Regions from separate parts of the Homo sapiens genome. Here all the other regions are linked to region 2. Evidence: promoter capture Hi-C in 16 types of primary human blood cells and fetal thymus (Javierre and others, 2016). All regions are on one chromosome and are shown on one strand. The core of a region is centred on a gene start or on the middle of the fragment in contact, and the rest is flanking DNA. Distances in the headings are between cores, read along the strand shown.

Region 1 (5,548 bases), core at 1,391-3,890, 290 kb before region 2:
AATCATGGGAAATATGAGCAAAGCTGCCCTTGACATAAAATGATTTATCAACCTGCTTTTCACCACATCAAATTGAATCAGTACAGACCAACACGGTCAATCAGATCATTCTTAATATGAACAAATGGGTAAAAAGAAAAAAAATATGCATATGAATAAACAGGGGAACTAGATGCGTTTCAGCAAGGAATGTCAGGTGGTAGTTCTGGATGAAACTTGTATTGCAGTTTTCATTTCCACAGTTGTGTGCTGAGAGTCTGACCTGATGAGCTTCCAGACCATCCTGCTGTTGTGCTGGAGGGCTGGCCAAAACCTGCAGTAGGGGTTGCACTACTGATACTCATGCCAGCCATCTGCTGATTCATCTGTGAAACATATAAAAGGCTTAGTTCAAGAGGCTTACTTCACTTTTAATTCTTGTTTCTTTAGCCACACAGTTGGTCATTTTTTCATTAATGTGACAACTAGTCCAAGCACTGGAATAAAAACAGAGTACCATACAAATATTTCTTAAAGCAAATAGCTACTTTGTTCCCTTCTTTATCTACTTTCTAGATACAGTTTCCCCAAAGATTAACCACAACTTACTTAAAAAAAAATACCAAAGCAATCTTGGGATTTTAATGAGTCCGCTACTCTAACTAACTTTCACCTACACTAGGATATTGTGCTTTAACTACTAAGGAGTAAGAAAATTTTAGGAAGTAAAATAGTCTAAAATTATCCTATAAACTTTGTATGATAGATATTATTCTCTATTAAAATCTTATATACTTCCTAAATATTTTTAAAGTGGTCATAAAGCATTTATTTCTCTCGCTGATCTAACAACATAAACATCTAAAATTTATTTTCATTGTATGCAATAAAGCATAAGATTACATGTATTTTTCTTCAAGACTGGAGTCAAATATATATATATATAAGCATCTTAACCCTGTGATTCTCTTACTTCCAAAATTGGTGATAAGAGAAGGAAAGGCAAGATTTACCATATAGTGAGTGGGTTTAAAACTTACACTCAGAGTTAGACTGTGTTCTTAATTTAATACATTTGACTTGACTTATTTACAGTTTCAAAGACACTAACATAAACTACATCACTAATCAGGCATAAGTGTCTGAAGAAGCAGATCACGTCTTCATACCTACTAAAGGACATTTTAACCACCTTGTCATTGGCCAGTAGATTGCACTGATGGAGTGCTGGAGAACAGCATCACCCTTCTGCATTATCTGGAAGTAAGAGCCAGTATTAACTCCTTCCTGGTTCATCTAGCACCTTAACCTGAGCTGGGTGTGCTTCAGCATGTTGACCATGTGACTGACACTTAGCACATACAATTTTTTAGATTCCCAGCGGGTAGAGACCAATGTTTTACCTATATTCTTGTAAATGGTGGTAGCAAAATTAACTGTGATATATAGTGATTGTGCTAATGTTAGAAATCACTCTAGACTATTCCCTGAATGCTCTAAAGGTAAAACAAGTGACCAAACAGAAACCAAGATTGCCAAAATGCTGGAGGAACATCAATGGGAAGTGTAAAAGGAAGAAGAGTGGGAGCATGAACCTCTCTAAGAGCCTTTGTCTGTGCAGCTAGAGAAAAGTCAGAACACAGCACCTGAAATAGAAATGTTCTATCTCAGCTCTAACTTAGGTAGAAATAGGATTTTATAATATGAGGGGATGTCTGGTTCACACCTTATGGGAATTGAATCTTTTTGTACTCTTTTTAAACATAAAAGTCATTATAGGGTATGTAAAAAGAAAATACAACTTTACAAAGGTTTCTCAACAAAAAGAATTTTTACAGAGCCATGGGGCAGTAATCATCCGACCTGAAAAATAGCCTTAGATCCCTCATAAAATAGTGCTTTGAGAATATGAGGCTAGATTTTTATTTTCTAATAAAAGATCCTAAAATTATTAGTGAAGCTAAGTTGTCTAAGTGGACTGTAAAAATGTCCCACCAGCAAGCTGGATAAAGCTTAGTGCTAATCTCAGAGGTGACAGAGAGGGAGTCTCATGATGCCTGAGATAATTTCTGGCCATTAGTGGTGTTCACGTTACAGTTACATTACAATTTGAAATGAAAGATGTTTAACCTTTTTTTTACAGAATACTCTAAAATAGCGATAATAACACATCATTTGTCTATCTGATACAACTTCATAATATTTATAGATACTTTTGACCCTATAACATATTATCCCTATTGAATTCTTTCTGCCAGATCACTAGACTTAAAAAAAAAAAAAAAAAAAAAAAAAAAAGATTTAGAAAATAAATCTGGTTTGATTTGGGAGAAGCTAGAAAGTAAATGACCCCTACCTGTGAGAGGCTCCACTGGGGCTGCTGAGCTTGCGGCAGGCCAAACTTACTCTGGGGTGCACCCATTTGTCCCACCATTCCTCCTTGGGGGCCAACAACGTTCTGAGGAAGTGGCATCACACCAGTTTGTGCATTTCCCATAAACCCATTGGGCATGGGCATGCCCACCATCATGCTTGGACTCTGTCCCATCACATTTCCTATAAGGCCAGGAGCTGCAGGCACAGGCACGCCCATCGATGGAAAGCCCTGAAATGCAGCTGGTGCTTGTGAGGTAAATGGTATATTTGTGGGTCCCATAAATACACCTGCACCACAAAAAGAAAATGAATGAAGACAGAGCTATCACGTGTAGTTGCACTCATCTCTATAATCACAGAAAAATTGCCTTTCTGAACTACTCACAGCAAACATTTTAATTCCAGTTTGGCTGCTCCTACTACTCAGACCAACCCACACCTAAACCCTGAGAGCTGGTTGTTTCTAGGATGCAGACAAATCAGTTATTAACCTGAGTAAATTTAATTAAGAAATGTAAATCATATGCAACAGCCACACAAAATATCTTCCACTGTGAAGACCAAACTATGTAGCATGACATCATACACTGTTTTATTGCTGATTTGTACCACTGGTCCCCCAGTACGAAACAGGGAAGTGAGAGCTGACTATATCTCGCTTCAATAGGTGTAGTGGGCTGCCCAACAATTTTAGCTCACATGTGAAATGCAGCTCATTATTTTAAAGGAAATGGTGTGAAAGATTAAAACTCTGTAAACAATAAGGCTTATGCTAATATTTTGTTATGATTACAAAAAAATTCATAGATTTTTTTTAATCCATGTGGTAACTCAAGACTGTTTACCTGCAGAGAAAATACACTGTACGCAGTCATAAACTTCATGCAAATCGTTTCAATAATTCATCAAAGATAATCCATGTTCTATAAGCTTGTGAAACAACATTTAGTGATCTATGAACAGCTTGTTAATTCCAAATAAAGTTCTGTGAATCCTGTACATGCCTCTTAATTTTTTAATTCTAATGCTCATTCATTTCGGCTTCATAGTTGTATAAACTGCAACAACAAAAGCACTCACTACATGGAACAATAAAAGATATATAATTGATCTTATTATATAATTACAAAGGATGTACTTCTAGTAATGTCACTGAAAGCAGATATCAAAATTCATTACCAGGAGTACTTTGCTGTTGAATGGTTCCTGTGCCATACAGAGATAAGATGGAGTCTTTGGAAAGTTGTTTCTTTGCCACTTCTTCTGATTTTGTAGTTTGCTCAGTGAATAAATCTAGATCCCCAGATGTTACTGTAGACAGGGTTGCAGCTGCTGGTGCAGAGGGTGTCCCCTGAGACAAACACCAAAATAAGCTATCAAATTCTGCATAGTAAAGCGCAGCTTATCCATTACTTAAAATCCAAATAAAGTTATAAAATTAGATAGGAATCAAACAATTGTAGAAGGTAAAATGGTGCCATTCAAGAGGATCACTTACAAGCCCAAGCCCATATAAAAACATCTACAATCAAGACAGTACTTCTTAATTTGAATCTGTTAATGTAGGTAGACTGAAGCATTTTCACAGTAAGTTGCATTTACTACCTAAGGTGACACCAAGTTTTTGCTCATCAAATCCTGGGGCTCAACAATAGTTAGAGATGAGAGGACCACCACTCCATAGCAACTACTGCTTCAAGAAACTGGTATCCTTTGGAATAAAGAACATTTCTACAACTACAACAGACTGTAAGAGGATTTGCAATGGCTACTTAAAAGGTTTTATCTTTTCAAAACCTGTATCATAGGATTTTTATACATCTAATCAGTTTTAACTACAATATTAGACTGCTTCTAATCTATCCAGAAATGAAGGTACAGCAAAACTTTGACCATCTATTGTCTGAACATATCCTGCCCTTCACTTTTGGACAAGGGGGCAAATGAACACAAATACAAATAAACATGTAGATATTTAATATAAAATATTCTCAATCTCATATCTTGCACACACTATTATACAATCACAACTGCTAACCTTAATCATCTCCGTAGTCACTAAACATTAAATCACATTCACATGTTATATGGACTTGTTTTGAATATGAAGAGAGTTTCAAAGAATTCTATGAAGACTAGTAAAAGCTGGCTGATCCTTCTCAAACTACAGAATAAGGTGAGTTGCAAGTGGAAATTAAATTCAAACATTTAATGTCCTCCTAGAACACCATGCAATAAGTTACCATCCAAACATTGTACTTATAAACTACACAGTATTTTGAATCTTATGACTAAGCAAGAATTGTAAGCGACAAAAAGCCGCTTAATTTTCCAAAAATTCAAATATGTAAGAAATTAGATATCATGGAATACTAAATATCACAATACCCCTGAATAAAATATATCTAAGCTACCAATGAAGCAGCAGCAGATCATAGAGCTAAGAGCATGGGCTGGAGCCTGTCTGCCAGGACTAGAGCCTGCCCCCATGACTTTCTGTGGTACACTCAGACATGTTACTTTACTTCTCCTTTCAGTCTCTCTCCTATAAACTTGGGATAAGCTTAATGATCACAAAAGTGTTCTGCACAATGGTTGGATTAAGTACTTGGTGTTTATTGTTAATATTGTTTATAAAACAAAGCAACTACATCACTAAGTGATCTTTTTATCACACTTAGTATCTGTTCAACCTAAAAGTCTGCTGAAAACCCTGGGGTCTATTCCCTGTGGATAAGAGACAACTATAAGAAAACCCAAAATGTTGGGAAGCTATGATTCCACTCTCATAGTAGAGCAGCCTAATATTCACATACTGTAAACATCATAATATGAAATATCTACCTCAACAAGGACACAGTCTAAAAACAGCCAAACCAATCAGCAGGACTAGTAAGCACTCAAATGTCCACTTACTTTCTGGTGCTCCACTCGCCAGCACTACGACCCCAGGATAAAAGGGAAACAACTTCTGCCTCTCATTTTACACTTCAGGAAGCTGCAGAGCATCTAATCGAAGGCTCTCTGGCCTTCTGGGACCCAAGGGCTTAACCAAGAAAAAACAGGACTTAGCCCTTGTGTATGTCTAGGTACTGTTGGTATATGTATATGTATATGTATATGTATATGTATATGTATATGTATATGTATATGTATATGAAAGAACAGGAAAGGGGTTTCTCCATGTCAACAA
Region 2 (5,473 bases), core at 2,054-4,553:
TAAGGTAATTTAGATACAAAATCATTAAGCATCATGTTTCTGTACATAAACAACAGTCAGAAAATAGTAAGATTTATAACAAAGTTATGGCTATAATTATCAAGACAGGTAGTATCAGCACAGGAATAGACAAATAGGTCAATGGGACTGAGAAAAGAGCCAAGAAATAAACGTATGCCTATATGTATAAGTAAACTTGATTTATGATGGCTCGCATTATATCAGTAGGGGAAAGGTCCTATAAATACATGAACCTGGGACAAGTGTTTGATATGAAAAAAAATGAAAACTGGTTTCCTGCCTCACACCATATACAAACCATCAATTCCTGGTAGAATAAAGGCTTAAATGTGAAAAGCAAAACTATAAACCTTTGAGAAGAAAATATAAGAGATTATGTCCATGACTTTAGGGTACAGAAGGGTTTCTTAGACAAGACCACAAGGCAGTCACAATAAACAAAAGGATCAAGACAAAATTTTATAGATAAAATTATAAACATCTGTTTATTAAGATACCTTTTATATTGAAGCTGCATGATTACACATGCAGACCCGTTATTCTATTCTGCCTAGCAGTGACAGAAACAAACCACAAATTGAGGTATTTGACACTTACGTAACTAAAAAAGGTTTAGCATACAAATATATGTAAAGAATATAAATAAGAAGCAATCTGTTAAGAAAAAAGGCCGGGCGTGGCAGCTCACGCCTGTAATCCCAACACTTCGGTAGGCCGAGGCTGATAGATCACCTGAGTTCATGGCAAAACCCTGTCTCTACCAAAAATACAAAAAATTATCTGGGTGTGGTGGTGGGCGCCTGTAATACCAGCTACTTGGGAGGCTGAGGCAGGAGAATCGTTTGAACTCAGGAGGCAGATGTTGCAGTGAGCTGAGATCTCGCCATTGCACTCCAGCCTGGGCAACAAGAGTGAAACTCCGTCTCAAAAACAAAGAAAGAAAAAAGAGGCCGGGTGCGGTGGCTCACGCCTGTAATCCCAGCACTTTGGGAGGCCGAGACGGGCGGATCACGAGGTCAGGAGATCGAGACCATCCTGGCTAACACGGTGAAACCCCGTCTCTACTAAAAATACAAAAATTAGCCGGGCGTGGTGGCGCGCGCCTGTAGTCCCAGCTACACGGGAGGCTGAGGCAGGAGAATGGCGTGAACCCAGGAGGCGGAGCTTGCAGTGAGTCGAGATCGCGCCACTGCACTCCAGCCCGGGCGACAGAGCGAAACTCCGCCTCAAAAAAAAAAAAAAAAAAAAAGAAAAAAGAAAGAGGTATTTCACAAAAAGTGAATATTTGAAAAGATGTTTTACTTCTTTAATCAGAGAAAAGCAAAATCACAATGAGGTGTCATTTCATTTCCCTGTAGGCAGCCAAAAATTAAAACCTAAGGCAAAATTAAGTTTCGGCAAGTTTGTGGAACAACAGAACTCCAATACACTGCTGGTAGAAGTGAAAATTGCTATAGAATTAGAAAATGCCGTTACACCTTGGCATTATATTGTAACAATGAAAAGACCTATAACATACTCCAGGAATTCTACTCCTTCCACTAATGCACAAATAAGGTACACAAGAATGTGTAGCACCCAATCCTAGTGTTTCTGGAATTACCCAAATGTCCTTTGAGAAGGGCACTGGAAAATGCATCATATGTTCACACAGTTGAATGAATAACTACAACCTCATGCGTCAATGTGACTCAATCACAAAACACAGCGTTATCTGAAAAAAAATCAACAATATGAAAACATTTCTATAAAGATTAAAAACACCATTGCACAGTTGTATCAGGAAGCAGCAAATAGAGACCTCCTTGGCAATAGAGACTATTTCTTAAATTGGAGTATAAGTTCATAGATGCTGGTTGTGCTTCATAGCTTACATGACTGCTACATAGCTTACATGTGTGCTACGTGTGTGTGTGTGTATACATATATATATATGGAATAATTCATAATTGTTTAAAACTAGTTAAAGGGGGATGTTGAATGAACCCTACAAAATTTTAACGTTATTACCTTGAGGTTTGGATAATGTAGGACTTTCACTTTCTGTATTATTCATTTCTGGACTATTTAAAACTTATACAATTAAGTAAAATGTTTGTATTTGGGTAAAATGATTGCACAAAGGAAAACAAATTGCATAGAAATCTGGCACCATTTGAGGGCAATAATTACTGTTTTCAACTTACATAACTTCTCCAGGTGTCATATATTAAAATTATGTTTTGCGGACCGGGCGCGGTGGCTCACGCCTGTAATCCCAGCACTTTGGGAGGCCGAGGCGAGCGGATCACAAGGTCAGGAGATCGAGACCATCCTGGCTAACACGGTGAAACCCCGTCTCTACTAAAAATACAAAAAATTAGTCAGGCACGGTGGCGGGCGCCTGTAGTCCCAGCTACTCAGGAGGCTGAGGCAGGAGAATGGCGTGAACCTGGGAGGCAGAGCTTGCAGTGAGCCGAGATTGCGCCACTGCACTCCAGCCTGAGGGACAGAGCGAGACTCCATCTCAAAATAAATAAACAAATAAATAAATAAATAAATAAAATTATGTTTTGCATAGTCTGGGCTGCTAACTGTATTATCTTGAGAAAAATTTCCAACAACAATGGGTTTAAAAATGTTGGTTTTACTGAAAGCATGAATGCTTTTTCTGTACTGACAATTCCTGGCTTCATCTAATTTACGTTATACTTATTTGCCTTTGGCTCACTTCTGCACTTTTCCCATTTTTAAAAGATAAACTGTAAACTGCCACAAATCCTTTTCTGCTGGAGCCTGGACCAGGAGCGCGGATTCCTGTAAATAATGATGTAAATAAATAAGTAAATCAATGACTCCCATTCCCAAAGGGCCTTCTTTTCCATTTTTCTCTGGGGCATCGAAGTGCGGTGTGCCCTGCGAGCTCCCACAGGAACAACCCGGAACGTTTGTGGTCCTGTTGGGCCACCGCGTGCTCGGTAGGAAGCGGACGTCCCGGGGGCTGAAAGGGCCTTAGCGATTTTCTCGCTCTAGTCCCACCCGAGACCCGGGGCGCTGCAGGAACCTGCCCAGGCCACCGGGTGGGCGGCTGGGCGGGAGAAGCTGGGCAGCCCCTGGCAACACCGAACGGCCAGGACACACGCGGCTTCCTCCGCGGGAGGCGCTTCTCTCTGCGCCTGGGCCTTCACGACCCCTCCCGCGACCGTGGCCCCGAGGCCAGGTGCTTACTTGCCGCTCTCCACGCCGTGGCCGAGACCCAGCTAAGCAACCAGGGAAGCCTCGATGGGGTCATGGCGCCGACTCCCCGAGCCTCCGCGCAGGCGCAAAGCAGTAGTGGGAGGAGCAGGGGGCATGATCCGGAGCCTCCCTGCAGAGGGCGGGGCCTCCGTGGCCGGCTTTAGAAAAGGAGTTAGAGGCATCCCTGGGCTCTTTGGCCAAGAGAGACCCAGGCTACCTTGAGCCCGGTGTTAAAACGCCAAATCGTGGCTGCAGTTAGAAGAGGGAATAATTCCGTTCCGTTCATGCTTGTCAGTCTGAGCCGAAATGGCCCGTGGAAGATCCCTTTTATAGTTTACAAAGATTGAGCACCTTTTACTCTCTCACTCATGTAAAATGCTTCTTTTACCTAATTCTCCCTGTTTTGTGTTTTAAATCTTTGTTCAGTCAGCTCCTAGTTCGTCCATTCTGACCGACTAACCAGATGATATGAAAGGCGACATTTTTGAATGAGGTGCAAAGCAAGAAAAGGCTCTCCATCCAGGCCAGGATCCAGTGCAATGAGCTCTGCCCCTTAACCCTTACATCCCACCAGCTCTGATAGCGTTGAGTGGATGTGGCAGACCTGGATGCTTTGTGCAACTCGTGGAAATATTTACAGAATCATAGTGAAGGCCCCCAGAATTCTGGAATTTTGTCTTTTCTTTTAAAGAAAAGTTTCTGGCTAGCTATTGCGCCTTGGTAGTGTCTGACCATGTGACATCAAGTGGTTATACGATCGAAGCTTCTTATCATGAACTGAGAATTATCTGGTTCTCCTAGATAAGGAGATCCTTTTACGAAGAGAAAGTGGGCCGGGCAAGGTGGCTCACTCCTGTAATCCGAACACTTTGGGAGGCCGAGGCGGGTAGATTACCTGAGGTCAGGAGTTCGAGACCAGCCTGGCCAACACTCTACTAAAAATACAAAAATTAGCCGGGCGAGGTGGCACATTCCTGTAATCCCAGCTACTTGGGAGGCTGAGGTAGAAGAATCGCTTGAACTCGGGAGGCGGAGATTGCAGTGAGCAGAGATCACGCCACTGCACGCCAGCCTTGGAGACAGAGCAAAACTCCATCTCAAAAACAGAAAAAGAAAAAAGAGAGAAAGTGGGATACACAGAACTGGGCCAAAGTCAAAACGGAAACAGTTTTCATTTGTAGGGAGCTCACAGTCCTAATATCATGCTTTTGACCTTTAGCTTATATCTACAGTTTAATAATGAATTCCTTGTGACTAGCTGACTGAGGAAAAAATTCAAAGTCGGATGATGGCTTTGCTCAATAAACTGGCCCAGCTGGCAACTGACTGCTTTTCATATTTAGAGCCCCACTTAACAGAGGCCCTGAAGGAACAGAACAGGGAAAAAAAATTATTTCCAGCATGCATAATTTAGCTTATTTATGTATTTTATGTTTTTACAGGCACATGTCACCACACCTGGCTGATTTTTCTATTTTTAGTAGAGACAGGGTTTCGCCATGTTGACCAGGCTGGTTTCAAACTCCTGGCCTCAAGGGATCCACCCCTCTCAGCTTCCCAAAGTGCTGGGATTACAGGTGTGAGCCACTGTGCCTGGCCAGAATTTAGCTTATCTTGTATGCTTTGCCTAAAAAGAGACATGGCTTGAGATAAAAATCGACATTTCATAGGCAGTGACTGGTTTGTCAAGTGGCTGGGAACTGGGAATGTAAAAGTTTTGGACTGGGTCTTTGGAATAGGACCTCTCAAAGTGGTCCCAAAGCATGAAAACATTTGGGTCCTATTGAACGTTAAAAAAAAAAAAAAAAAAAAGAGCTTCCATTGCAGAAGGGCTCTTAATCAGAACAAGATTATTAGTTATCTATTGCTGCCTCACAAATTATCCCAAAATTTATTGGCTTAAAGCAATAAACAGTTATTCTCTCACAGTTTTTGTGGATCAGTAACCTAGAAGCCAGAGTGACTGTGGTTCTGGGTCCTAAATGAGGTTGCAGCCAAGCTGTTGGCTGAAGTCCCAGTCTCGTATAAATGCACAACTAAGGGAAGATCTGCTTCCAAGCTCATTCACATGATTATTGGCAAGATTTGGTTCCTTGTGGACTTTGGACTGGAAACCTTCTCAGTTATTTGTTAAGTGGGCTTCTCCAAAGGCTATCTTGCAACATGGCAGCTGGCTTTCCACAGGACAAATGAACTAAGGAGCAAGAAAGACCACTCAAAATGGAAGCCCTGAACT
Region 3 (5,244 bases), core at 1,515-4,014, 260 kb before region 2:
AAAAAAGTAAAAATAAGAAAAGACTACTTCCAATCATTATATCATGACCACTGCTAGGATGCCTAATATTGCCATATTCTAAAAGCTGACAAGACAGGTACTCAGTCTCTGACTGAAGGGGAAAATCATGGCTGGCCTCAGCTATTGGACTAGGAAGAGACAGTTGAAATGATAATTCTCTTTTGTCACATTGAAGAATCCAGCATTTCAAAAACCAAACATTTAAAATAATTAAAATCAAATCTCATGAAATAAGATAGGAAGTTCAGAATAATTTTCTTCTTGTCCCTCATTACAGTATCTGTAGCAACAAGGCAATTTAAATAATCCAGATTAATCAAGAAGAGAGCAGCAGTACCCTGTGTACATGCTAAAAATCCTGTCTCATGGCCACTCTAAAGTCTACTTAGTTTCTACAGCAAAGCACATTTGATTCTCTTTGTCTTTCTTTACAATATAAATCACCAATGTTAATGTGTAGAGAGGAACAACAGATTTCCAAAATGTATTCCAATTAAATATTTTGGTTAACAGACACAGACATATGTGTAATGGATTATGTCTTCCTGAAAACTTTCTAAAATGGAAAAGTCTTCAAGAACATGTTTGACTTTTTCCAGGTTTGCCTATAACATAAGAAGTCATTTTTATCAATATTTTCAAGACATAAAGGTTGTAAACCTTAAACAACAAACATGAATACATAAACTATCAATTTGTACTTTTGCTCTGTAGCATACCAACTGTATTGTACTTTGCAAAGACTTACAAGATACAATTATTTAAGATACTTAAAATATAGCTATCACATAAATACAAAGTAAATAATATCTGGAAGCCAAATTTTAGAAGATTTAAGAATAAAAATGCTATTATCTTGTTAGGATTTATGGGCAGGGATACTAGTGTGTGATAACAGTAAATTAATACCTTGATGACCACACCTTCCCTCATTTAACTGTCATCCTTTTGATACCTCACATTCATCTCAGACATGGCAAGCAACAGATACAGACTCACTCCACTTTAAATTCTGCTGCTATTGAAAACATTGCATAGGAAATTTGTCTTTTAATAAGTGAAGAATGCAGTCAACTGTGGGTAGATAAAATTAGGCAATCTATAATTTATTAAACAAAATTTTCTAACAAGCAAGAACATAAGTCTACTTAGATAAAGCAATTTTATAAAATGTAATTTCCTTAGAATCACATTGAGCAGATGTCTCGTTCAAATTATTAAAGCTTTTATTAGCAGAAGCTTTACTACCCAATCTTTTTGTGATTCATTAACGCTACCCCACAGAATATAATTGAATAAAAAACTATTTAGGTCCCAACTCCTACATTTACCACCATTTCCTAGCCCTTTAAATAACAGACATAACAGCTGAGCCTCTAGAAGGTGATTCACTATTCTTCAGCTGGCCAGTTAATGTAGACAAGAGCATAAATATATAGTCAATAGGAAAGCTATACAATTTTCTAAGTTCTAGTGGTAATTATTCAAAATTTTCTTTTAAAACTGACATCTCAAATTATAACTTAGTTTATTTATAATCAGTTTCCTTTAATATTCCTAGAATCTTAGAACAACAAGAAACATAAAATGTATTACATTCAACTTTTTCATTTTAACATTAAGGAAATTAAATGACATGATTTGTCCAAAGGCTCCGTAAGTGGCTATCGTGGCAAAGGTTAATCTCCTAACAGGGTTCCTTGCCCTGCACCATGGTGCCTTTTGCTGAATAATTTCTATCTATCAAAAATTAGATTTAAAAATAAATATTTACCCAATGCTTAACAATACATGCATATTCTTACAATGACATAACAGAAAACTGCAATTTAAAAAAATCATGCCAGGTGGCACGTGACAGTAGTTCCGGCTATGTGTGAGGCTGAGGTAGGAGAATCGCTTCAGCCCAGTAGTTGGAGAACAGGCTGGACAACATAGCAAAAACACATCTCAAAAATAAAAAAAACAAAAACAAAAACAAAAAGAAGACAAAGAAAAAAACAGAAAAAAAAAATAAACACAATCTGATAGAGGGTCAGAGCAAGCATGCCAATAATTTTAACTCAAGGTACACTATAAAGACCACATGAAAAGTATGACTCTTTGAAGTTCAAAGGTAATGGTAGTCGTGGGTGATTAGGATTTTATAAAGGTAGTGACATTAACTTTTGTGTATGTAGGAAAAATAGGAAAGAGTCAAATAGGAAACACGGTGCACTCTACTGCCCAGGCTAGAGTGCAGTGGCAAGATCGCAGCTCACGGCAGCCTTGATCTCCTGGGCTCAGGTGATCCTTCTACCTCAGCCTCCCAAGTAGCTGGAACTATAGGCATGCACCGCCATGCCCAGCTAATTTTTGTTTTGTTCTGTTGGGGTTTGAGACAGAGCCTCACTCTTGCCCAGGCTGGAGTACAGTGGAGCAATCACCACTCACTGAAGCATTGACCTCCCTGGAATTGGCAATGGCACCATGTGAAGAACACTGAGTGGGAAAGGTGCTAGATGGTGCTTGTATCTGACTGACCTCTAGTTCTACATGTAAGGAATAAAAGATGAATCTGAAGATTTTTATTCTATTTCCACAATGTGGAAGGACCTAAATAAATAGCCAACTAGAGCTAGCATTCATATATGTCACTGTTTTTCAATGGGGGTAGTGAAAAGAAAAAATATTACTCCTGGAGAAGTATGTTGTGCATATGAACTGCAGTGAGGAAGAAAAATCTGACCACCATTGTTGTAGGTGGGAGGCTTTGTGACTGTGATGTGGTCAGAGCAATACTTTAGGAAAAAACTAATCTACGGCCTCAGTAGAACCTGATTATCTGAGATACATTTTCTAACAAGTTACTCAACAACACATAATTCCCAGAATACTAACCTATCTTGATTACCTACTGAAATCTTCATAGGTTTAACCTTTAATTCCCAGAATACTATCCTATCTGATTACCTACTGAAATCTTCATAGGTTTAACCTTTACTAAAATTTTCAGTAAAAAATTCATGAGTTAATATTATCCACTATATTACCTACATTAGTTGTTTACTCAAATAAAGTCTTTTGACTATATGCTATAAATACATTAATAAAAACCAGTCTTATATTCCTATATAGATTGATAGCTATAATTACTATATCTGTTTGTATTTGTATGCTTTCAAAACTGAATTATATACAACCTTAAAACTATTTTATGTGAGAAAAAATTTTGCATATAATTCTTGTTTATTCCCAATATCTTATTTATTCAAAATCTTTAGTTTCTTTTTCTCCTGTTTACCATTCTTTATAATATAGATCTTTTACAAATTAAAGCTGTCAACACATAGAGTACTCTTTTTGAATTTAATATTCTTTCTTAAATTGTATTTTTAGGATTTATTACAATCTACATTTTATTTCCCCAATCATATGGACATCTTTCAGTAAATGTTCTCTGTAAGACCTATGGACACTACCGCCCCAAACAGTATCTCACTGGGCTGGAGAAGTTATCAAGGATTTACACAAATTGCAGAAGTCGGAGCAGCCTTGAAGACATTTAGTGAATTATGTGATACACAAAACACTACTGTAACATCTCTCTTACACGTCCATTCTCTCTGTAAGAAAATCTTCCAGTGTTATGGAATCACTGCATATGATGATATAGCATATTTTACATTTGGATAATTACAAATATTAGAAAGTATCCTCTTCAGACAATTTGTAACATCTACCCATTTAGCCATACTCTCTATGCTACAGCCATGCATAAAACAAATGGAGGAATAAATTTGTGGAGCTGACCTTCTCCAAAGCAACAGAAGACCATTAATTCATACCAGACCTTTGGTCATCTAAAATTCAATGACATTTTCTTTTGTGCTATATTCAGGACAGTTAAGTTTGGGTACATTTGCTTCAGAATTTTACATTTATCCAATTTGTTGGCATTTATTTTAACACTATCTGAGGGATTTATTCTGTCATTTGATATCTTAACTAATCTTTATTGCTTGGTCATTTGAAAATTTGAACAATATGGCACAGATATCCACAGTTAATAAAAATGCTGAAAAGAATGAAGTTCAGTATTGACCCCTGAAGAAAGCAGAGAACTTCCTCTAAACTGACATCAATTCTATTAATTGGATAGCTGTCTATCCGGTTCATAATCTACCTTACTATCTGATCATCAGGCCCACCTGTCTACATCTTGACCAGACGCATATTTAAGAATCTTGGCCAATAAGCAAGCTTAGTCTGACAGGAACTGTGGGGTTTTTTTTTTCTTTTCTTTTTCTTTTTTTTTTTTTTTTTTTTTTTTTTGAGACACGGTTTCACTCTGTTGCCCAGGCAGGAGTGCAGTGGCAAGATCACAGTTCACTATACTGCAGCCTCGATCTCCTGGGCTCAGGCGACCCTCCTACCTCAGCCTCCCAAGGAGCTGGGACTGTAGGCGTGCACCACAATGCCCAACTAATTTTTGTTTTGTTTTGTTGGGGTTTGAGACAGAGCCTCACTCTGTCATCCAGGCTGGAGTGCAGTGGTGCAATCACCACGCACTGAAGCCTTGACCTCCCAGGCTCAGGTGATCCTCCCACCTCAGCCTCCCAGGTAGCTGGGACTACAGGTACAAGCCACCACGCCCAGCTAATTTTTTGTAGAGATGGAATTTCACCATGTTGCCCAGACTGGTTTTGAACTCCTAAGCTCAAGCAATCCACCTGCCTCGGCCTCCCAAAGTGCTAGGATTACAGGTGTGAGACACCATGCCAGCCAGGAACTGTTCTTAAAGAATCCATGGCAGGCAACCAGTGAGTGCTGGTAAGACTATGGAAAAGAAGTAAGTTGTTAAAAAAAAAAAAAATCCTTTTGAATTTTGCATAGAATCCATGTCAAGCTTAATGATACAGCATTCATAATCCACTACATTTTCCTTCTGAAAATCAAGACGTGAGCCCATCTCTAATCTCCTGGTTCCCTAGTTTGTAGCATTTCTCAAAGAATGACCTAGAGTGCTTTATAAATGGTTCTAAAAAGTTTCTTATTATTCATCCCAAATACTGAATGGCTACACTGGTAAGTTTCCTTAAAATAATACTTTGCAGGATTTTTGTGAGAAGTAAGCAAAGTAATTTAAAGAGAGTCCCTTTCACAGTAGCTGGCACATAAGTGCTTCATAAATGGTAGCTGCTAGTGGTTGCAGTAGTACATTTTATCGTTACATACCAGGAC
Region 4 (4,872 bases), core at 1,809-4,308, 390 kb before region 2:
TCAATTTTTCAGACCTCGTGCTATTTCTGCTTCAGAACCAAACTTTCTTAATGGGCTCCTTTTCTGGGCATCCCTTAACCCAGTCAAGCTGACACATAAAATTAAGCATCCCACCCTTCTCTTTGTGTGGTTAAATTCCTAGGCTGGGGCTATAAATTGATAGAGGAATAAAGGAACAACCCCCCTTTTAACTTTAAGAGATTTATATTTCACATAGAACACCAAATATGTGCCTAAGCCAAGTCATACTTAACTTGGCACTCAAGAAGCAGAAATTAATAAATGTAGTCATTTCAATGGTCCACCTGCAGGCTCATAAATGCACCTGTTATAAAAATAATAAAAAAATTAATTCAAGCCACTGAACTACCACATTTAGACAAAAATGGAACTTAAAACATTGACAATGTTCCATTATTTTAATTATTATATTTTGGAGGTAGGTTGCTCATATAACATGTGTTTACCTACAGGAACTAGATTTACTTTTGAGAGAGTGGACAGGAGATACTTTCTTGTTTATGAAGATACACAAACCTTCTTTAATTATGTCTGCAGCTACTAGATAATATGCAACTGGTTATAAGATTTGGTAACACAATATGATATTAATAGTGTAATGCAAACCCATCAACAGAACTGGAAAAATATTCAAAGTACATTTCCTATGGAGTTTACCAAGAAACCACCTACACTCATTCATTCTACATACAAGAAAACTGAAGACCAGAGATCTGAGACTTGTCCAAGAGCTAGTCAGTAACTGGAACTTTCTATGGCCTTTATCTTATACCCACTCCCCATATTCATATTGTTTGCTCCCAATATTTGTACTCAACATATCCAAGAAAAGGCATCCAACTAAACCAACAGCCATTTGGAAAGAACATCTTTATTTAAGTAAACATAGATGGTTTGGATGCAGACCCTGCTTTCGCTAAAGTTTATTTTTAAAATTTGTACCCTCACCAATCTTCATACAGAAAAACTGTCTTGAGACAGGGTCTCTGTCACCCAGGCTGGAGTGCAGTGATGCCATCATATTTCACATATTTCATTATAGCCTCAAACTCCTGGGCTCAAGCGATCCTCCTGTCTCAGCCCCCCAAATAGCTGGGACTACAGCCATGCCCCAACACACCCAGCTAGTTTTGTTTTGTTTTGTTTTGTTTTGTTTTGTTTTGTAGATAGAGGGTCTTCCTATTTACCTAGGCTGGTGTCAAACTCCTGGCCTCAATTACAGGTGTGAGCCACTATACCCTGCCCAGGGGTTGTATCCTTGATCAAGATGTATCCTTGAGTGAATTACAGATAGATGTGATGAAAAGCTACATTAATTTTTAAATTTCATCTAAAATAGTAAAATGGCTTCATGATAAAATGACTGTAAATGCTTCTACTATCTTCTTGTGGAGGAAAGGCATGGTGACAGCAGTTTCTGATCTGGCTGCAGAGATGCCTGAGCCCACGGCCACCAATATGGCTTACGGTGGCCAGTACCAATCTGTTGGGGGTGACACATCTGGGCAAAACCCCAACTGGCACTACACTGGCCTTAAAAGCCATAGAGTGGGGTTAGATGATTCAACTAGTATTTACTGGGAAAGGAGGTTTTCCCGTGGCAGAAAGTTATGTCAGTTACGGAAGACAGTATTCACTTAGTAAGCCTTCTCTTTAGTCTCCTCCGTCAAGCCTGTTGCCTGCTTAGGCCTCTCGAGTACTGCTTAGGCCTCTCGAGTACCGTCAATCATACCATAGAGTCTGGATTTGAAATCCCACCCATCAATGTTTCACTTTGAAGCTTTGAGGAAGCTGATGAGTTCTGTACTCAGTGTTCTTCACCTATTCCTTTGTTCCCATGCATGCGTGTGCACACAAACACCTGTTGGTTTCATCCTATCATTATGCACAAGTTCCTATCAGATTATAATTGCACTACCACCATCACTTCCTATCTGTATTAGTTTGCTACAGCTGCTGTAACAAAGTTCCACAAACTGGGTGGCTTAAACAGCAAAAATTTATGTCTCACTGTTCTGGAGGCCAAAGGTTCAAAATTAAGGTGTCCACAGGGCCGCACTCACTTCAAATGCACCAGGGAAGTATCTGTTCCATGTGCCTCCCCTAGCTTTTGGTGGTTTTTTTGGAAAGCTTTGGCATTCCTTGACTGGTGGCAGTATAGCTCCAATCTCCACGTGGTGTTCTCCCTGTGTTCGAGCCCCTGTGCCCAAACATCCCCTTTTAATAAGAACACCATTCACATTGGATTAGGGATCTACCCTACTCCAGTATTAACTCACCTTAACTGCTTACATCTGCAATGACCCTGTTTCCAAATACGGTCACATTCTGAGGTACTGGGGGTTAGGACTTTGATGTATGAATTTTGAGGGGATACATTCAACCCATAATATTTTGCACAAATCAGGCACTTGATGTAGTTCTTAAAACAAGAGCAGTTGGAAGCAGTATTATCTTGGCAAACAAGTGGTAGAACATAACCTGTTTTACATATTTTAATTTTTTATCATGGGAATGTTGACACATACGCAAAAATAGGCCCAATAATATAAGGAACCCCAGGTCTTCATTTCCTAGTTTCAACAATTACAACCCATGGCCAATGTTGTTGCATGCCCCTCCTGTAAGATAGAGGGAGATTCTCTTACAGGTATGAACTACAGTGTCTAAAATTACATTCATCTACATTATCTTCTTTGATTTTCATAACAACCAGAAAGGTAGGTTATGTAGTTTTACAATAAAATTCATGTCTAACAAATTACTATTTTAATGTAAATGCCAATTTTTAAGATAGTGAGGGGAAAAAGAAAGAATGCCAGTATGTCTTTATGCATGTTTTATTGGTTTTTTTGTGCATTCTAATCCGTTAATAAAAGGAAAGGAAGGAACACTGGTATGCTATATCGTCAGCTCTTATTCACACTGAATGGAATTAGTTTTCAATGGAATTGTTAAGGTAAATTGCCAATTTCTACTTTTCTAGAAAATCACTTTTACTGAAAAACCTTGTTCCTAACCCATCCTATAAAAATGGGATTTTACTGAACTACCTCTAATGTCACATTTTGTACATAATGGCTGCAAATGTCTAAAATGTTAAGGAAACATTATAATTTAGAACAATTCTAGGCAAAAAGAGATATTTGTAGAGGATCCGGATGCATAAAAGAACAAATGAGCCATTTAATTTGTAGTTTAGATGTCATTTTTCTGACAGTTATCAATGAAACTGTCATGTATCCCTGGAATTTGGGGCTGTTAGAATTATTTATTTTGATATCATTCTTTCACATAATTGTGTCTGATATTTTAACAGAAGGTATTTATGTTCGCATGCATGTGGACATTATCAATACTTTCACGTTACATTATTACTCATACATGCATTAGTTCTGATTCTCTTCAAAACCTAATTTGCATAACTACAATATTATATATTTATAAATACTTAATTTTGTACAATCCTTTTCCTACTTGACTAAGAATATCAAAGATGTCCCCAAATGCTTACTTGAAGGTTGATTTAGTCACACTAGCAGAACCCCAGGCTCAAATGTCAAATGGGATCATTTCTGTACAGTGCAGTAACCATATTGCAGTCTTTCTGCTGCTGAAGTTACAGTTGCATATTACTCATCAAGGCAAAATGTAAATGTTTAGTGATTATATGATATGGTTTTTGTTAATTCCCCAAATGGGATTTTTTTTACCTTTGTTTATTTGAGAACAACAACTGAATGCTGAAATGCAGTGGCTGATGCCAGCAATCTAAGGCTTCATTAGTACAGACGAAGCAATGCTCACTTTGCTACATAAATAATTAGAGAGATTAAATGAAAATAAACACTGAGAGGATGTGCAGACGCTCCGAAGTTAGGTAATTATTTTAATTACTCTAGTGACTTCCAGCAACCTTCATTATCAGCCACAGATCAAGCTTAAATTGTTTTATGTAAGAATATCATAAGCTATATGGAAAAGTACCATAGCTTACTTAGTGATTATGCTTCATAAAAATGACATTTTCTCCAAGCTCCCATTTAAAGGAGTTGTTTCCATTCCAGCCCCTGATAGACTCGTGACATATTTTTAAAGTATAAGTTTTTGCACTTAAAAATGTTTTGCCCTGGTTTTGTACTTCTAATGGACATCCTTAATGATAATTTTCGTATCTTTATATCTTTGCTCAGATTTGATCATAAGAGATTCGGGGCCACATATTGAGTGGCTTAATGTAAAACAATATGGCATATTCAGCCATCTGAAATAAATGTCACTTGGAATCATGTCATCCTTATTGCATGACAAGCTATACCTTGCATTTGGGGTAAATTTATTTCTTCTTTCTTCCACTCCCTAGACCAACTTGGGAAGACTCTAACATACACTCTAGGAATTATCTTCATTACAAGCAGAGGTACTATTTAGAAGCATTATCAGTCCTGTTTAGATTTCATTTTATATTCATTTGATAACGATGATCCATCAAGATCTCTTGTGTTAAGGTGTTCTTTTGAGGAAGGGTTATCTGTATTGAAATATCATTTATTGACTGCCTGTGTAATAATGGCTCTTCTTCAAACTACCCAACATACACCATTTAATCCTTGCAAGATTCCCATGGAGTATGTATTATTAACCCCATTTTCCAGATGAGGAAACAGGCCTTGGGAGGTTCACTGATTTTCTAAAGTTGCACAGTAGAAAGTATCCCAGAGGGGACTCAAACCCAGGTCTGCCTGACTCCAAGAACCATGAAGCTCCCCAACAGATGACTGAATGAAATAAACCTGGGTACAAATGCTAAGGGTAATAGAAAAAAATGAAGTGACAGTCTGTGATGTGCTA
Region 5 (5,498 bases), core at 1,646-4,145, 330 kb before region 2:
GATTACTTTAAAAATTTTCCTAATAGTATCTTTTGGAGAGTAGAAAATTTTAATTTTGATGAAGTCCAATTTATAGATTTATTTAAGGTTCCTATTATTTATGTCGTGTTTAAGGAAGTTTTGCCTACCCTAAGACCTCAAAGATTTTCTCCTGTATTTTCTTCTAGAAGTTTGTAAACTTAAAAACTTTAGCTTTTGTGTTTGGGTTCATGGTCCCATTTTAATTTAATTTTTATGAATTTTGTGAGATATAGGTGTTGTTCTTTTTCTTTCTTTTTTAATTTTTTAGTTAATAAAAATGGTATATATTTATATTGTATAACATGATGATTTGATACATGTATACATTGTGGAATACATATTACCTCACATGGTTATCATTTTTTTGTGATAAGAACACTTAAAAATCTGTCTCAGCAATTTTTAACTATATAATATATTAACTATAGTCACCATGATATACAATAGATCTCTTGAACTTATTCCTTCTAAGTAAAAATTTGTCCTTTGACCACCAGCCCCCCTGCCACCCCTCACTCCCTGTCCAACCTCTGATACCACCATTTTACTTTCTGTTTCTATGAGTTTGACTTTTTAAGATTCCATTTATCAGTGAGACCATTGGTATTTGTGTTTCTTAGCCTGGTGAATTTTACTTAGCATAATGTCTTCCCAGTTTTTTTATGTTGTTGCAAATTACAGGATTTCCTTCTTTTCTAAGGCAGAATAGTACCCTATTGTGTTTATGTGTATATATATATATGTGTGTGTGTGTGTGTGTGTGTGTGTGTATATATATATATATATATATCCCATTTTCTTAATCCATTCATCTGTTGATAGGCACTTAGGTTGATTTTGTATCTTGGCTATTGTGAATAGTGCTGCAATAAACATGGGCATTCTCTTTGACATACTGATTTCATATCCTTTGGATATATATGTTCAATAATGGAATTGCTGCATCATTTGGTAGCTCTATTTTTAATATTTTGAAGAGCCTCCATACTGTTCTCTACAATGGCTATGCCAATTTACATTTCTACCAACCATGTACAAGGGTCCCTCTTTCTCCACATCTACTTTTTTTTTTTAGCATGGATGTCCATTCATTCCAGCCCTGATTGCTGAAGAGACTGTCCTTTTCCCCCATTGAACTGCCTTGGCATCTTAGCCAGAAATCGACTGACTATATGTAGGAGGAACTATTTCTAAATTCTCTAGTCTCTTCCATTTATCTATGTATTTATCCTTACACTAATGCCACATTGTCTTGATTTATATAGCTTTATAATAAGCAGAGCCCAGTCAGGCCCCTCCTAGACAGTCCATACCAGAATTCACAAATACATATGACCTAAAGCAAGTAACATAATTAAGTGAAGCTGTTCTTGTATAAGCAGTATTACTTTATTTATATTAAAATCTAACGGGCTAAAATTTCAACGTGGTTCATTTTCATTTATTAATGTTTTGAGTCATGTCCCTTTCTCACATGTCTCATGGTTCTTATTATGGTTTATTTCTAATGATATCTTTATACACATACTTTTCACACTAAATATTTAGGAACATTCCCTGTTTTCATACATAGAACAATACTGCCTCCATACATTTTTGAAATGCGTGGCCCATTTGATCTGTTTTTCAGTTTCCCACTTCAAAGAGAGGAATACAGTATCTCCCATGACAGCATCAGCTGGTTAATGAATGGTGATTGGCATGCAGACTCAGCATTGAGACTGCAGTGGGGAATGATGGGGACACTGTGGCAAACGGGGGAGGGCTGGCACTGCTGAGAGGGGCACAGCCACTCTACGCCACTTTCATAACATCATGTCAAATGTACACAAATTCACCATTATTTATTTTGTTGCTCAAATTATTCCAGCTTTGTCCACTAGGAGCTGTTTCAATTGGCTATGTCCCTTTGACACACACACCAATGTGGGTTTGTTCGGTTTTTTGTCTTATTTGAATGCTTCTTTCCTTTCTGGCTCCTCCAGGCTTATCTTGTGTATTTCCCATCCCAGTCCTAGAATCAGCCATTTCTCTAAGAATCCCTGGTTTCTTTTATAAGAGAATGGCATTAGAAAATGCCACAGAGGTTAAGTGTCATTCCCATCACATCATAGCAAGGGTACATACTATCAACACGATTTATGACTATCGATGTTACCCTTAATCATCTAGCCAAGATGGATGGTGAAATCATTAGGAGGGGGATGCAATAAAGAGGAAGAAAAGCAGACTTTATGTTCATTTTCAAGCTTGTTCCAAAGGAAAGTTATAGGTGTATTTGATCATATAAATATCGTTTTGTTTTGGAAAATCACGTTTAGGGACAATAAAATTGGAAAGAATCCTTGCTTCCAAATCACCTCTGTGTTCAAATCTTCATCATATTTGCACTGCCCTTTCCTTTGTGTTCTTAGTTCATGGGTCCCATTGGATTTGATGGGTTTCGTTTACTTTTTGCTACTGAAATTGTTAGTTTAAAAAAACAGGATACAGAGTGTCACATTTTTTATTGTAACTCCACTTTCTTGAAGTTGCCTATAGCATTTTAAATTTCAGAAGATCGATAACTTTATTCATTTCCCTTTGGAAAAAATAAAACAAGATTTTAACTAGTGGCATGTCTTCAAGGAAGCTAAAGACATTTAACTTTTTCTGTTTTGCTCTAAGGGCATTCTGATGATTGCCTGAATGTGATCTTCTGAGTGTTCCAGTCCCTGGAGCTGGCTGTTAGCCATCTCCCAAGGAGGGTCGAAAAGAACGTAGCAGAAAGCTGCAGAAAGAAAAGCTGGCTAAAGAAACAGGAGCTGCCAGCCAGGGCAACATAGTGAGACCCCAACTCTATAGAAAATTTAAAAAGCTGTCCTGGCATGGCATGCCTGTAATCTTAGCTACTCAGAAGGCTGAGGTGGGAGGATCACTTGATCCCAGGAGTTGGGGGCTGCAGTGAGTACTTCCAGCCTGGGTGACAGAGGAGACCCTGACTCAAAAAAAAAAAAAAGAGCCGGTTGTTGTTAAGGGCCACCAGACTGGAGTGCATGGTAGTCACCTGCCTCCCTCCTTTCCTGGAGAAGATGACAACGTGATGAACAAGCACCACTACCCTGGAATAGTTTAAATGGCATTCAGCCTGGAGGAGTGTGCACATGCACCAAATATATCTTGTGTGTCCTTTGTAGCCATTGGGTCTATGGAGATTACTCTGGCTGTGAGTTTGGTTGATTAACATTGCTATGCAAGCCCTGTCCATTTAGCTGGAGGTTATCACAGGAGGAATAAACCACAGAATATGACTTTGGCATTGAATAAATGGGAAGAGAGTGCTTTTGGGGGCCAGAACTGTTTGTAATATTATAACTCCTATAAATACATGAATTGCTGCCCCTTTATCATAATATCCATTGCTTTAATGCTCTGTTTTAGATTGGAGTTCACACCAGACACCTGAGATTGTGTTTGTTATGTAACTGCTATTTCATGTTGAGAAAGTAGCAAAGCTTTTAAATACTGAGAATATTTTAGTTACATGAAGATACTTTTAGTAGTCACTGTTGTTGTTACATTCCCCCTACCCCTCAGAAAATAACAGGGCTGTTAAGGAATCCTCAAAGAGCATAGATTGAGTGAAAATGACACAGAACAAAGGACAGATCCCAGGAGTGAAATGAAGAAGTTCTGTAAATAGCTGTGCCGTTTTCCTTTGAAATGTCTGGCACACTCTATATAGTATAGTGGTCGAGGATAGAGGGGCTAATTCTGTGATGAAGCATTCTGCATGGAATTTCAGCAGGGCATAGATGGTGAGGGCATCTGGATCTGTTTGAGTTTTTAAACTAATTATATGACAAACTTTTTAAAATGTAGCATACCTGGAAACATCATCCCGCCACGTCATCTGCATTTAAATAATCATTGCCTCACCTTTAACACCCAGCCTCTAGAAAAATAAAGCATGAACAAATGTTAGCTCTGAGCTGCTCTCAGTAATTTGGAGTGTGCTAAGCAAAACCTACATTTTCTAGCATGAAATTGGCACAGGAATGCATGCAAAGTTTTGCTTCTTTGATTCATCTGGTTACCTAGAACCTGAGGCCATTCTGTATTCTGTGGACAAAACCCTATATACCTTTCATGACCCAGCTTAAATGAAAAGTCTAATGCAAAACATGCTGAATTTCTGTGGCCATATTTAATTGTTCTAGTGGTCCCACAGGTATAGTTTATTATTCTTTTTAATTCCCTTTAATGGCAATTTCTCTTTTCCTTTTTTAAAAATGTCTTTTGCCTTCTGTTCATTTATTACCTGTCTCCCTTTTTTATTGTGAGCATGTCTCTTGCACAGCACAGACACATAGTGATTTCTTGTTACATGTGGGCCCACATTTATTTTTTATTTCTATTTGTTTTTCATTCCTATTTATTTATTTATTTATTTATTTATTTATTTTGAGCCAGGGTCTTGCTTCATTGTCCAGGCCAGAGTGCAGTGGTGCAATCACATCTCACTGCAACCTCTACTTCCCGGGCTCAAGCAATCCTCCCGCCTCAGCCTCCCAAGTAGCTGGAACTACAGGCACACACCACCAACCACACCTGGCTAATGGGCCCATATGTAAATGACTAATTAGTATTTAAACACTTGCCAAGAGTTGTTTAATACCTGCTGTGTGCAGGGCACAATCTTATACATTCTTAAGGGAGCACAGAGGTGTCAGATGGGGTCTGCCCACCAGTTTTTCACAGATTTGAATATTTAGCGTTCTGGGCAAAAGCAGTTTAGGAGCTGAAAAATCATGGCCATTTTAAGAAGATTATCTTACCCAAAAACCCACAGTACTATTGTTATTGCCTTATATATAAAGCCATTCTGTTAATTTTTTAAAAGTATGTATTAGGTTTAACCTGGTTTCTCTGTGTTTGCCATGTTTAACATCTAAGGCCAAAAATTTGAAATATTTTTACTTTCTGAGTATGTCAGGAAAGAGGAGTCTGAAGCTGGAGTGAGTTGGGGAGGTGGGGGGGACTATATTTTTATGAAAATTTTAGTAAATTTCCTGGGTTTTTGTCCCACCTATGGGGAAGATCTAGGATACAAAAGCATTAAATGTTAATATTGATTCAAGAATTAAATCATCAAAACATTGCTGGGAGAAATTAAAGACCTAAATAAATGTAGAGAGATCATGTTTATGGGCTAGAAAACTCAATATTGTTAAGATGTCACCAAATTAATATATAGATTCAATGCAATCTCTATCGGAATTTGCTGAAATTGACCAACTGACTCTGAAATTCATGTGGAAATAAAAAGGATCTATAACAGTCAAAACAACCTTGAAAATGAAGGATAAAGTTGGAGGAGTAATACTATCTGATTATAAGACTTATTATAAAGCTATGGTAAATCAGGATATTGTGGCATTGGTATTAAGATCACTGAAGAGACCAATGGACCAGATTAGAGCATCCAGAAATAAACC

What was found. The method cuts DNA at HindIII sites, captures the fragments that hold promoters and counts their contacts. A CHiCAGO score of 5 or more calls a contact.
Region 1: a contact is called between a fragment that was not itself captured here and the fragment with the promoter of SDHAF4 in region 2, in 3 of 17 cell types (total CD4 T cells, naive CD4 T cells and non-activated CD4 T cells). The highest score is 5.8, in total CD4 T cells.
Region 3: a fragment that was not itself captured here is called in contact with the fragment with the promoter of SDHAF4 in region 2 in 4 of 17 cell types (total CD4 T cells, non-activated CD4 T cells, activated CD4 T cells and 1 more); the score reaches 8.4 in total CD4 T cells.
Region 4: a contact is called between a fragment that was not itself captured here and the fragment with the promoter of SDHAF4 in region 2, in 2 of 17 cell types (total CD4 T cells and non-activated CD4 T cells). The highest score is 5.4, in total CD4 T cells.
Region 5: a contact is called between a fragment that was not itself captured here and the fragment with the promoter of SDHAF4 in region 2, in 5 of 17 cell types (naive CD8 T cells, activated CD4 T cells, naive CD4 T cells and 2 more). The highest score is 6.4, in naive CD8 T cells.

Annotation. Positions count from the first base shown.
Region 1 is chr6:70,855,017-70,860,564 of GRCh38, reverse strand. SMAP1 (small ArfGAP 1) reads right to left here. Exons shown (of 11, transcript NM_001044305.3): 9 at 3,535-3,706; 10 at 2,336-2,643; 11 at 1-365. The coding sequence ends at 231. It overlaps B3GAT2 (beta-1,3-glucuronyltransferase 2), which reads left to right. Exons shown (of 4, transcript NM_080742.3): 4 at 1-3,886. Among named protein-coding and RNA genes, the nearest start is that of B3GAT2, 99 kb to the left of the region's middle. RefSeq lists a silencer at 2,913-3,062. The HindIII fragment of the contact is 1,294 bases long and covers 1,994-3,287 here.
Region 2 is chr6:70,564,760-70,570,232 of GRCh38, reverse strand. It overlaps SDHAF4 (succinate dehydrogenase complex assembly factor 4), which reads right to left and starts at 3,303. Exons shown (of 3, transcript NM_145267.3): 1 at 3,229-3,303. The coding sequence starts at 3,292. RefSeq lists a silencer at 2,956-3,015. The HindIII fragment of the contact is 5,796 bases long and covers 1-4,002 here.
Region 3 is chr6:70,826,026-70,831,269 of GRCh38, reverse strand. The region is part of intron 6 of SMAP1 (small ArfGAP 1); the gene reads right to left. Among named protein-coding and RNA genes, the nearest start is that of B3GAT2, 130 kb to the left of the region's middle. The HindIII fragment of the contact is 3,003 bases long and covers 1,263-4,265 here.
Region 4 is chr6:70,959,486-70,964,357 of GRCh38, reverse strand. No RefSeq gene overlaps it. Among named protein-coding and RNA genes, the nearest start is that of B3GAT2, 4.9 kb to the right of the region's middle. The HindIII fragment of the contact is 1,810 bases long and covers 2,154-3,963 here.
Region 5 is chr6:70,897,931-70,903,428 of GRCh38, reverse strand. All of the region lies in intron 1 of B3GAT2 (beta-1,3-glucuronyltransferase 2), which reads left to right. It overlaps LOC105377850 (a long non-coding RNA gene), which reads right to left. Exons shown (of 5, transcript XR_001744196.2): 3 at 3,888-3,955. Among named protein-coding and RNA genes, the nearest start is that of B3GAT2, 56 kb to the left of the region's middle. The HindIII fragment of the contact is 1,245 bases long and covers 2,273-3,517 here.